3 separate regions of the Homo sapiens genome follow, and regions 1 and 3 are each linked to region 2. The links are contacts of gene promoters, found by promoter capture Hi-C in blood cells and fetal thymus (Javierre and others, 2016). All regions are on one chromosome and are shown on one strand. Each heading gives the region's core, a stretch centred on a gene start or on the middle of the fragment in contact. The rest is flanking DNA. Distances are from core to core; before and after follow the strand shown.

Evidence for each region. The method cuts DNA at HindIII sites, captures the fragments that hold promoters and counts their contacts. A CHiCAGO score of 5 or more calls a contact.
Region 1: a contact is called between a fragment that was not itself captured here and the fragment with the promoter of GABARAPL1 in region 2, in 2 of 17 cell types (total CD8 T cells and naive CD8 T cells). The highest score is 7.3, in total CD8 T cells.
Region 3: a fragment that was not itself captured here is called in contact with the fragment with the promoter of GABARAPL1 in region 2 in 1 of 17 cell types (neutrophils); the score reaches 5.3 in neutrophils.

Annotation. Positions count from the first base shown.
Region 1 is chr12:10,512,509-10,516,407 of GRCh38, reverse strand. All of the region lies in intron 3 of LOC105369657 (a long non-coding RNA gene), which reads left to right. It also overlaps a transcript of EIF2S3B not described here. Among named protein-coding and RNA genes, the nearest start is that of EIF2S3B, 8.6 kb to the right of the region's middle. The HindIII fragment of the contact is 184 bases long and covers 1,197-1,380 here.
Region 2 is chr12:10,211,110-10,215,133 of GRCh38, reverse strand. It overlaps GABARAPL1 (GABA type A receptor associated protein like 1), which reads right to left and starts at 2,257. Exons shown (of 4, transcript NM_031412.4): 1 at 1,915-2,257. The coding sequence starts at 2,004. It overlaps GABARAPL1-AS1 (GABARAPL1 antisense RNA 1), which reads left to right and starts at 67. Exons shown (of 3, transcript NR_170310.1): 1 at 67-492; 2 at 765-1,080; 3 at 1,172-1,485. RefSeq lists a silencer at 2,125-2,384 and an enhancer at 2,478-3,020. The HindIII fragment of the contact is 15,130 bases long and covers 1-4,024 here.
Region 3 is chr12:9,936,374-9,940,129 of GRCh38, reverse strand. It overlaps LINC02470 (long intergenic non-protein coding RNA 2470), which reads left to right. Exons shown (of 5, transcript NR_104634.2): 3 at 37-221; 4 at 960-1,067; 5 at 3,316-3,551. Among named protein-coding and RNA genes, the nearest start is that of LINC02470, 5.2 kb to the left of the region's middle. The HindIII fragment of the contact is 6,613 bases long and covers 1-3,756 here.

The DNA of each region.
Region 1 (3,899 bases), core at 39-2,538, 300 kb before region 2:
ATTCTGCCTTTTGATTTTGTATAGACTTTTTATGGCATACTGTTGCAGTAACCCTGGGAGTTGCTGGCTGGCATTTGCAGGCTTACGATATATGCATGAGTATCAGCTACACATATTTCATATGATAGCAATAAGACAGGATGAAAAATGAGACACTATAACTGTGGAACCTCTACGAAACTTTGTAAACTATAAGGTTCTAGAGACATGTTAGCAATCATAATGGTACTGATGATATTGATGAAAATGATTTTATTATGTTGTTATCATTTAGTTTTTGTTTATCATTTAGCCACACAAAAGAGCATATAGCTGTGATTACACAAAAATTTCAGATACACTACACTTTACTTACCAGTGAAATTTTAAAAATAAAATTTTAAAATAATTTATTTTAATAAAATTTAAAAATATGTTAGTGTATATATATACTAACACCTATTTTACATATGTATACTAACACTTATTTTATACTAAAAATAAGCTAATATATATATACTAGTATAAATTAGTATGTATGTAGTATGTATATAATATACACACAGACATAGTGTACCCATGTATACACACACATATATATACATGTAGTATACTAGTATAAGTTAGTATGTGTGTGTGTATACGTATATTATATATAAAATAACACTAAGTTTTTTTGTGTGTAAAATGGGGTTTGCATATGACCAGTGAGTTGGGAGAATCTTTGATTATTACATTTTTATCTTACTGAAATACTGCTTAAATCACAAAGAGAATAAATTTGATGTCCTTTCTATACAAATAAAATGTTACTAGAGTTATAGAGTGAAGAACATGAATAAAGGACAGATTTGGGTATTATAATTGCCAACAATTCCTGGGTAATAAACTGAAATATACCAGTTTTGATATATTTCACATCAGTTTTTACAAAACTGTCCTCTACACTTTCTTTCAATATCTTTATTCTGATTATTATTAATTATTTGGTTCATTCATTCAACAAACAACTTTGGGTATCTTCTATAGGTCAGGAACTATATATGGCACCGATGATACAGAATTTTTTTTTAAATTATCAGCTTTCAATGAGCTCAGTTGAAAGGAGAAGTTTTTTTTAAGTGAAGCAGATTGAAATATAAAATACTGCTAGTGCTGTAATCGTATCATGAAAGGATCAGATGAATGTCATATAACATCTTGAGGTCATAAAAGCTTCCCTGTAGATCATAATTGATGTGAAGTAGAGGACAAGCAGGAATTGGGGGGCTGAAGGTAAACAAGACTAATGTAGATGGAGTGAAGAATATGAATAAAGGGCAGATTTAGGTATTATAATTGCAAATAGTTCTTGGGTAATAAAAAATGTGGCTAGAAATTGATTTGGACAGGTATGAAGCTTCATGAGGGTCTTTTGCACTATGTTAAAAATTTTTAGATTTCCCCTAAAGGCAAAGAAAACGATTAGATGATTTTAAGTGAAGGACCAATATGACTCATGTTACATGAGCAGATATGGATTTTAGAGAGGTCAATCTGAGTAGCCTAGAAAGTGGGTGGGGGGATGTAAAGGAAATTGTTTTAGGAGTCAAGGTTAGTGACAATGACTGTCTAAACTGGCATCATGAAAAAAAGCAATGATGGGTAGGAAACCTATATGAGAAATATTTACAACGTAGAATTGCAGGAATCTGCATTGGATTCAGTGGTTGAGGGAGAGGAGGAAATCCATAATTTCATATCATATCAGCCTTCACACCTTGATGGATATAATTCTATTAAATGTTATAGAAAACACAAGAAGAACATTAAACTATGTTTGTTGTGATAATGGTGATGATTTAGGTGCTTTGTGGTATATCACTGGAGACAACCAGAAAGAATTGGTCTGTGTCTCCAGAGTGAGCTTTTAGTAGCAGACATAGACCATTGGCATGTATATGGAAGGATTAAATGTCTGAGATCAAGAGAGATACCTAGACTGGATATATAAATTGTGGAATTATCAATTAATATAATAAGTATTTGAAAACATTGTAAGGAAAGGAGAGCCAGATGACAAAAAAAGCTTTGTAACATCAGGGAGTATTATATTATGTTAGAAGAGAAGGGGTCAGAATGATGATCTTTAGGATAAGTCAACATTTAGAAATAAAATATGAGTAAATAGCAAAAAAAAATGATATTTTGATGAGACAAGTAGGAGGGAACCCAATATAGTAGAGTATCTGGGAGAGTAAGCTATGGTGAAAGTAGATTGCAATGGCTAAAACCTATTGGCCAATTAGGAAACAGAGACACTGAGTTCAAAAAAATTATTTTTTAAATTATGGCTAAGAAAAAAAATTTACCAAGCATTGAAAGTATGGAGAGCTACATGATTCTTCTTCTTCTTTTATTTATTTATCTTTTTTGAGATGGAGTCTCGCTCTGTCACCCAGGCTGGAGTGCCATGGGACTATCTCAGCTTACTGCAACCTCCACCTCCCAGGTTCAAGTGATTCTCCTGTCTCAGCCTCCCAAGTAGTTGGGACTACAGGCATACGCCACCATGCCCAGCTAATTTTTGTATTTTTAGTAGAGATGGGGTTTCACCATGTTGGTCAGGCTGGTCTTGAACTCCTGACCTCAAATGATCCACCCGCCTCAGCCTCCCAAATTGCTGGGATTACAGGCGTGAGCCACTGTGCCCGGCCTTATATGATTCTTATATGTTATTAAAGGAAATATAAATTGATACAACCACTTTGGGAAACAGTTTGATTTTATCTTCTAAAGCTGAACATGGCTCAGGAATTCTAACTACATATCCAAGAGAAATATTTGCATAAGTACAACAATGCAAATTTACAGGAATATTTACAGCAGTGCTGTTAACAATTTGAAACATCTCGAAACTATCCAAATAACCATTAATGGGATAATGATTGCAAATCCTCCAACAAATACACAGGGACCCATCCATCTGTCTCAGAAAAAAATTTCTCTTCCCACTGAACAAGTCTGAAACTCCCACCCCAGTGTTGATTTCAGCCCTAGTATAAATAAGCAAGAAGGTGAGGGGATTTATGCCTGATAGCCACTAGTTTTATGTGAAGTAGCAGAGGAGGGGTAGGATAATATTTACGTAAATTATCTACTTCACCTCCTTGATTCTCCCAGAGGAGCATGACAATATGAGGTGAAAATAAAAACCAAATTTTCTGTACAATGTCATACAATTTTATAAAGTTAAAACATTAAAAACAAAAAATAATTTTAAGGAATAACAAAGCAATAAAGTATGTATAAAATAAATCAAGGGAATTCATCACATAGGATTCGGTATGATAGTTACATTTTTGAATGAGGTAGGAGGACGGGAAGGAGTGAAATATACAAGTAGATAAATGTAATGGTTATGGTCCTAGCTATAGTTTTGGGTTACAACTAACAAAGTGAGTAACTAAATAAATAAACAGAAGTTCTTGGAGCAATGATAAAAGCGTCTTATGAATGAAATATTGTGAATAATCCTATCGGGCACCTCAAGGTCTAAAAATTAAAAAGAGACAACTCTGTTTTAAAGAGCAGGAAAAAGAAATAATAGAAATCTGGGAAGCAAGAGTGGCTTGAGATTATTATATACAAGAGAAGAGAAACATTGGAGGGAAAATGTTAGAGGAAAAATGATAATAGAAGTGGAATAGCTAGAGATGATGATTCTTTAGGACATAACAGGGGGTGATATCCACACTAGGGATGGAAATTTTGGAGTTTTTCAGTGGGAAGATAAATTTTTTTTCTGAGATAGATGGATGGGTACCAGTGTATTTGTTGGAGGACAAGCAAGAAGATGAGGGAATTTATGCCTGATGGTCACTATTTCTATGTCAAGTAGCAGATGAGGGCATTTTCTGAAAAGGACAGTCAAGGAGGTC
Region 2 (4,024 bases), core at 1,008-3,507:
TGCAATGAATTCCCAGAACTAGAACCAAATCAAGGAACCTGCGTCATAACTAGAAAGAAGGTCACAGACTGGTCACCTTGGGAGCAGCTCACCACTGGTTAAAACATAACCCTAGGAAAGCTGAAATCTGAGTGACAGGCTTAATGGCTTAAAAATTATCACAGGAGTAAAACATTTAACACCAAACTATGAGCAGGAAAAGAACAGAATGCTCTAAAATATTCAGAGTGAATGCACATAAATATTTATCTATTTCCAATACTTAACAGTGTAAAGTCCACAGCACGTCATTAATTCTGGTTAATACAACTATATTAGAAACTGAGAAACAATATGGCATGGAGGTTAAGATACCCGAGAGCTCCACAGTCCTTCAGACAGGGTTGGAATTCCAGCTCAACCACAGATCAGCAATGTGAAACCTTTAGGAAGTTACTGCATTTCTTTGTGCTTTGAATACTCCATCTGTAGAACGGGTAATCGTGTAAGGAAGTAAGTCAATGATTACAGACTGAGTACTTATAATACCGCTAGGGTAAACTATCAATAAAACTTGATTGTATTTTTTAAATATCATTGCTCAAAAGATTGGTATCACCAGAACTGGGCAAAATTTTCAGGTATCCAAGGTCCAGAAACCAGGAAAGTAATTTGTAAAGGATCCTTTCCCGAGTAAGGGATTAGCTCACCCCTCTATAAGCTGAAAACCTTTTTGTAATTCCTGGGGAATGAAGAGCCCTAATGACTTTTTTTTCTTTTTAAAGGAAAAGGGTTACAAGAGGTTTCTACTGCTGGGCTAAGGCCCTGGTGGCTTCTGGTAGCTATAAAACCACGAACGTTAGGTAAGGATTAGAGAAGAAACCCAGAGTGGCTGTGAGTCAAGAAAAGACATCAGATAACAGCAATTATTTTACCATTATGTGACACGTAATACTAATGTTCCTACCTGAAGATAAAGAGCACAATTTTAAAATCTCCGCTCCTCCATTTCCAAAATCCAACAGCTGCTGGTCCCCCTACCACTTAAGCCATATTCTGCCCTCCAATTCGGCTGCGCAGCCTGCATTAGAGAAACACCAGGCAAGTGGGCGGGGGAGGGGGTAATGGGGAAAACGCCCGGATGCTGAAAGATACCTAATACTTTTCTGTTCCTACTCACTGCCTGCGGTAGTTTTAACTACTTAAGCCGGTGTCCAAAACGGAGAAAAAACGTCTCAGTCCTGCCTTATCGCGACCAGGTACCAGGTGATCAGAAATCAACACGAGGAGGCTGGCTGTCCCCACACAAGCCCCGGAGCCTAGAACGATGAGGCAAGAGGGCTGTTGGGCAGAGAACGTGACCTTGTTTTCCAGGCCAGGACTGTCTTGTGCTCCCCTAACCCCCTGTAATGCAAGAAAATTACTGAATAGCTTCTGAACCTTTTCGTCCCAAGACCAATGATATGAGAGCCAAAGTCAACTTCATTAAAGGAGAACCAGCCAAGGCAGAAATCGACTGGGTTTGCGCAAACCTCACCGCACAGCACAATGTCCCTGCGTTCTTAAAGGCAGCCAATCCATGGCCCCGATCTAACCAGTCTCGCCCACAGGGGCCCTATTTTGTGCACCGCAACCCACACACGGTCTCAGCTGCTGAGACCGTGTGTGGGTTGCTGAGTCACTGAAGACGGCGGCTCGGCCCCCAAAACGCCGTCAGCCCTGAAGTGGGGTTCGGGGCCCAGGCATACGGGGTTTTAAAAGCTCTACAGTCTGGACGTCCATTGGCTCTGGCACTGAAGGGCGTTCAGGATTAAGTAATTCTCGGAACCTCCCTTCTCCAGAGCCGCCTGGGCGCCCCAGGGAAGCCATCTCGACTACCCGCCCCCGCCCCCGCGGGCCCTTCCCCTCCCATCCCCTCCGCTCCTCTACACTCACGGGGACCCTGTCCGGATATTTCTTCCGGATCTTTTCTCCTTCCTTTTTCCGATACTCAAAGGGATGGTCCTCCTTGTACTGGAACTTCATGATGCACCGCAGGGCTTCCGAGATCCCCGCGCGGGGCCTGCCTCCTTCGCCGCTGACCCTGTCCCGCTCCCTCAGCCGACGTCAAGGTGTGCTCAGAATAGCTGCAGAAACGTCCGCTCCGGGGGCAACAGCGCTGGGCCGAGTGTGCAGGGGGGGTTCGGGGCGGGGATCTCGGGTGAGCCTGCCTGGAGGTAGAGGAGAGCCAGATGGAGAAATACCGGCGGCTTTTCGCTAGAGCTGGGAGCACAAAAACAGCTGGGTGGCGCGTCGGGCTGTGACGTCACCCCGCGAGCCCCGCCCCGCCCCCCATGCGCCAGGCGCCCAGGGCAGGGGGTGGCCGAGCGCTCTGTCTCACTGCGTTTCCTTTCTGGCTAACCTTTTTCACAATCGATGTCACTGCAAACATCAAAACATTCGAGTTATGTTTTATTTTGTGACTGTGAAATTAAAGATGGTTTTAAGACAAAAAAAAGATTTAAACATGTTTTATTCCCCCTCCACTGTTTTTCTTGGTTGGGCCCCAAAACAAATACAAAAGGCGAAAATCCAGCCTTTTCCTGCTGGTTGGGATCCAGCCTCAGGAGAAAAGAGGGCCAGGCCTCCTGGGATCCCTTTGGCCAATGCAGAGCTGTCCCGTGCTTGCACCGTGCCCTCTGCGCGTTCCGCTGCCCCTCCCGCGGCCCTCCTCCCGCGCTGGCGTCACAGTGTTTGGGCGGTGCCGCAGTTCGCTCCTGAACAGCAACATAAACAGAGCGTGACTCAGGAATCTGAAGAGAGGAGTCAGATGAAGGACACGGAGTGTAATCAAAGTCTAAAGGAGACATGATGTCAGTAAGGACTACCGAGGGCTTCACGTACAATCAAATATAGAAATGATTCACTTTCTAGCCGGGCGCGGTGGCTCACGCCTGTAATCCCAGGAGGCCGAGGCGGGCGGATCACCTGAGGTCAGGAGTTCGAGACCAGCCTGACCAACATGGAGAAACCCTGTCTCTACTAAAAATACAAAATTAGCTGGGCGTGGTGGCGCATGGCTGTAATCCCAGCTACTCTGGAGGCTGAGGCAGGAGAACCGCTCTAACCCGGGAGGCGGAGGTTGCGGCGAGCGGAGATCACGGCGTCGCACTCCAGCCTGGGCAACAAGAGCGAAACACCGTCTTACAGAAAAAGAAAGGAAGGGAGGGAGGGAGGGATTCACTTTCTGCCATAAACTCAGAAAGGGGGCTCGTCTTCTGGAAAAGAGAGTATCAAGCAATTTAGGTGATGACCTCAGTTGTTCCCCCACATCTTATTTAGTTCCAGTGGTTAGGTATCCCTCACGTGACTAGAAAGCGCTGCCTGGAATGCTAGTAGAAGATTGGGCATTAGGGCAGGTGAGGCGAAGCCTCGTTCTGGATTTCCCCACCTAGAGTCAAAGAAGAAAGACCTTCCAACCAGTACTGTAGGGCAGCGACAGGGAGGACTGTGGAGTTTGCAAAGAAAAAGAACAGTGAAAAGGGGCTGCGTTGCCCATACAAGTCGGGTGAGTTCTGATAAATATTAGATAACAGCAGCCCCGTGGCCTATCTTCTTCAGTCGGGGTCTCAGTGTCTCTAATTTTAAAAACACCCACAGGGGGCCAGGCGCGGTGGCTCACGTCTGTTCTCCCAGCACTTTGGGAGGCCCAGGCCGAGGATCGCTTGAGCTCAGGAGTTCAAGACCAGCCTGGGTAACATGGCAAAACCCTGTCTCTACAGAAAAAACAAAAATTAACAAGGCATGGTGGCGCGCTCCTACAGTCTCAGCTACTGTGGAGGCTAAGGCAGGAGAATCGCTTGAATCCGGGAGGCAGTGGCTGCAGTGAGCTGAGATCGCCCACTGTACTCCAGCCTGGGAGAGAGAGCAAGACTCTGTCTCAAAAAGAATAAATAAATAAAAATAGGCCGGGCGCGTTGGCTCATGCTTGTAATCCCAGCACTTTGGGAGGCCAAGGTGGGTGGATCACGAGGTCAAGAGATAGAGACCATCCTGGCCAACATGA
Region 3 (3,756 bases), core at 801-3,300, 270 kb after region 2:
TCTTTATTCTTTTTCTCTATTACCTGTTAATTTCAGTTGGAATTCCAAGGCACCTTAGAAACAAGACATGCCTAGAAAATTTGACTATGTGTCCACAAGGCTGGAACTGAATCAATAATAATTGCTTCTTTCAATCTGAACATGAAACAACGTGGATCAATGGCTGAGAAAACTGCAGAAGTTATGGATCTCTGGCCAGGCTCAACTCTCAGAATGAAATGGTTAGATTTCTTCTTTGCAATATTAAACTCATTTAATAGCTACTAAAAGACAGGCACACTCCTAGGGTGTAATACATTAGCAAACCAAAGAATCAAAGATCTTTGCCCTTGTGGAGTTTACATGCTAGGGGAAGAGATAAGCAATGAAAAATTATCTTATTAAATATGTAATTTATATATTGTGTTAGAAGTTGGAAAGTTTTATGCAAAAAAATGAAAATTAAGGGAGTGGGTTTACTGCAGGTAAGGTTATATCCCAATAAGATGGTGACATTTTAGGAAGGATGTGAAGCAGGTAAGGGACTATCTAGAAGTGAACTTTCCAGGAAAGGAAAATGGCTGGAGCGTGTGTCTTAAGGCCAGTGAATGTCTGGAATATTCAAGGAACAGAAAAGAAGCAGCCAGTCAATCTATCTAAAATGAGGGATTGAGTGAAGAATGCGGATCATTAGGGTCTTGCAGGCTATTGTAAAGAGTTTAGTTTTTGCTCCAAGCAAAATAGGGAGATACTGCCAAATTATGAGGGAAAATGTAATAGGATCTGACTTAAGTTTTAAAAGAATCATAATCTTTGCTGTGATGAGGTTGGCTACTGAGTCTCAAATGTAAACGGAGGGAATCATGTTATACGGCCTTTGCAGTAACTGTGCAAGATAATAATAGACTTAAAGGGCACTGGAGGGAGTGAGAATGAGAAAACTAGAAGAAATCTATGACAGCACTCTGTATTTTGTAAAGGGAATCTTTGATGCATTATCTGGGGCCGTCTTTATATTGGTTTGAACTGAGCAAGCACAATGCAAACAAAACGTGGATGTGGGCAGATGGAGCTACATTCAGCAATTGGTAAGCCTTACTAACATGTATTTACTATTAAATGTGTAAAGCGTGGTAAAGATTCTGAGTCTATAACTGGCTTCCTCCATAGATTCCTCCACATCATCCCCCCAAAAGACCCTCAAAAAATAGATGCCAAAGAGAATATTTAGACAAAGTTACGGTTTTTAGTGAGGGTTTGGCATCACATATCAATATTTATGTATATATATGGAATTGGTATATACCACATGTGAGTCACAAGTGTTCCCTTTATCCTGAACTGGATGCAAGTCTAAGCAGTTTGATCCTTTCCTCTTTGGACCTGGGACCTTGCCTTTTGTTTTTGTTTTTTTTGTTGTTGTTCCTTTGGCCTTTCATTGATGGGAGAGCATTAGAGAGTGTACTGAAGCCTACACTTTCCGCACCCACCAGTGGCCTGACATGCACAAGAGTAAGTTAAGAAGAGAACGTGTTTGCCTCAGTTTACCTTTGTTTAAAATTCAAGAACTTCTTTATATTCCATAGCTTGAAAAAACTCATCATACACTTAGAATCTATTTTGTTCTTAAAACACTTACAAATTTCTCCAACGTCAGGGTGGAGAAGGTCATATAAAGGATATTGAGTTCTCAGTATTCTTTGGTGAACTAAAGGTGACCACTAGCTACCATTTATTGACTGCCCACTTTGTAATAGATACTGGTTCTGTAGCACTCCATGCCAGATATTACATGTTGTATATAATATAATAAAGTTAGTAGCGGAACTTTCTAAAGTTGAGAAAATTCTCTTATGATTATTGTATTTACATTCAATTTGGGGTGAAAATGCACAATGATTTGAGAGGGATAATATACCCAATATTATATTTTATCTTTGAAAAATGTAAAAAAAAAAGACAGATTAAACTTTCTGACTATAAAACATAATATTATATTTTCTTGAAAGAAAATATTAACAGCTTAATGTGGCATTACATATTATATACAGGCCCATCAAAAAATGAGACAGGAGTTAACATTGGTGTATTAATTTGCTAAGTCTGCTGTAATAAATGCCACTGAATGGGTGGCTCAAAGACAGCTCTGGGGGCCGTTAAGTCCAGGATCAAGGTGTTAGTAGGGTTGGTTTCTTTTAAGGCCCTTCTCTTTGGCTTGCAGATGGCTGTCTTCTCACTCTGTGTTCATGTGGCCTTCTGTACACACTCAAGTCTGTGTCTAACTTATTTCTTCTTATAGGGACATCAGTCATATTGGATTAAGGTGCACCCTAAAGACCTTTTCTTACCTCAATCACTTCTTTTTTAAAAAAAACAAATACCTTATCTCCAAATCTGTTACATTCTCAGGTACTGGGAGTTAGGCACTTAATGTATGAAATTTGGGGGCCTATAATTCAGCCCATAACGGTTGTTATTAGTTGGCACTATGGATTGGATAAGCATAAAAATACACATATATTTTGGGAATGGGCAGGATAAAAATTTGAAGTTACCCTAGAAGTTAGGAAAGTGTACACCAGTACTGTGAAGTTCCCCCAAATAATTACAGTATAACCAGAAATGTATCATGATTAACCATCCTGTTTTCCTCCGTTTTGAATTTTGAATTTCACATGTTTATATGTATGGCATAAAATATAAATGTAGGAAATCTTTTCTTTAGATTTTATTTGTTTACTTATGTGTATCGTAATCTATTGAGTAAAGAATACCTGTTTCACTACAGTGATGGTGATAAAGAGTGGCCAAATGTGAACATTTATTTCAGCATTAATAGACCAATTTTGTAATATATGAAAGGTATGTTCAATGAAATGTCAGTTACACTCCCCTTCTTTATAATTTCTAAATGGCTAAACACATTGATATATCAATGTTTATGCTACAGTATAAAGGGAAGAATCCAATCCCTCACAAAATGATTACAATGTTTGCTATAGTATCAACAGCGTAAACTTCCAGGACTGTGTTGTTAGGCACTGAAGTCACATAGTGTCCTTTTCTTCCTGCCATCAGGGTCCTGAGGTAAAATTTGGAGAAAGATAGGAGGAGAGCAACAGCTTGTTTCACTTCCTCTACTCCTTCCACACTGCACGTGTTTTAGAAACCGGGCTAATGAAATTTACGTTCTATTTTCGAGGCTGTGCTCAGTTATTTCTCAGGAGGTCCAGTAAATAAAGAATTAATCTATTTGTTTTGTCTTTAGTCAAGTTATGAAACTAGCGAATTATTTACATTAAGTGGATTTGTTGTTGCTGTCGTTGCTGAAACTAGTGAAAGAATCGAGTTTTGTGCTATGAGTCATGGGAGCAAAACGTGAGTATTTAGAAGTGGAGAGGACCACGAAGAAGGAAGCCCTGGTGACTTGAAGAAATCATGGAGAGTTCTCCGGATTCCCACAAACCTATGGGGTTTAGATTCCAGCTAATACTTACACGGGTCTCAGAAGGACAGAGGGCAAGGGTTAACATCTGGCTGATATTAAAGTCTCTGCACCTCTTAATATTTTACTTTGGCCTAGTTTTCTTTTCTTCGCTTTTACATTTCCTGATATAATGAGTAATTCTCTTTTGAGTATTAACTTGTACCATGAACTATGCTAAATATTTTTACCCCTAAATGATGAAGAATTTTTATCATTTTTTGCTGAAATAAATGAGCAAATGAAAGATTGTTTACCTGGGATTATAGTAAATGGTAGAACCACATTTTAAA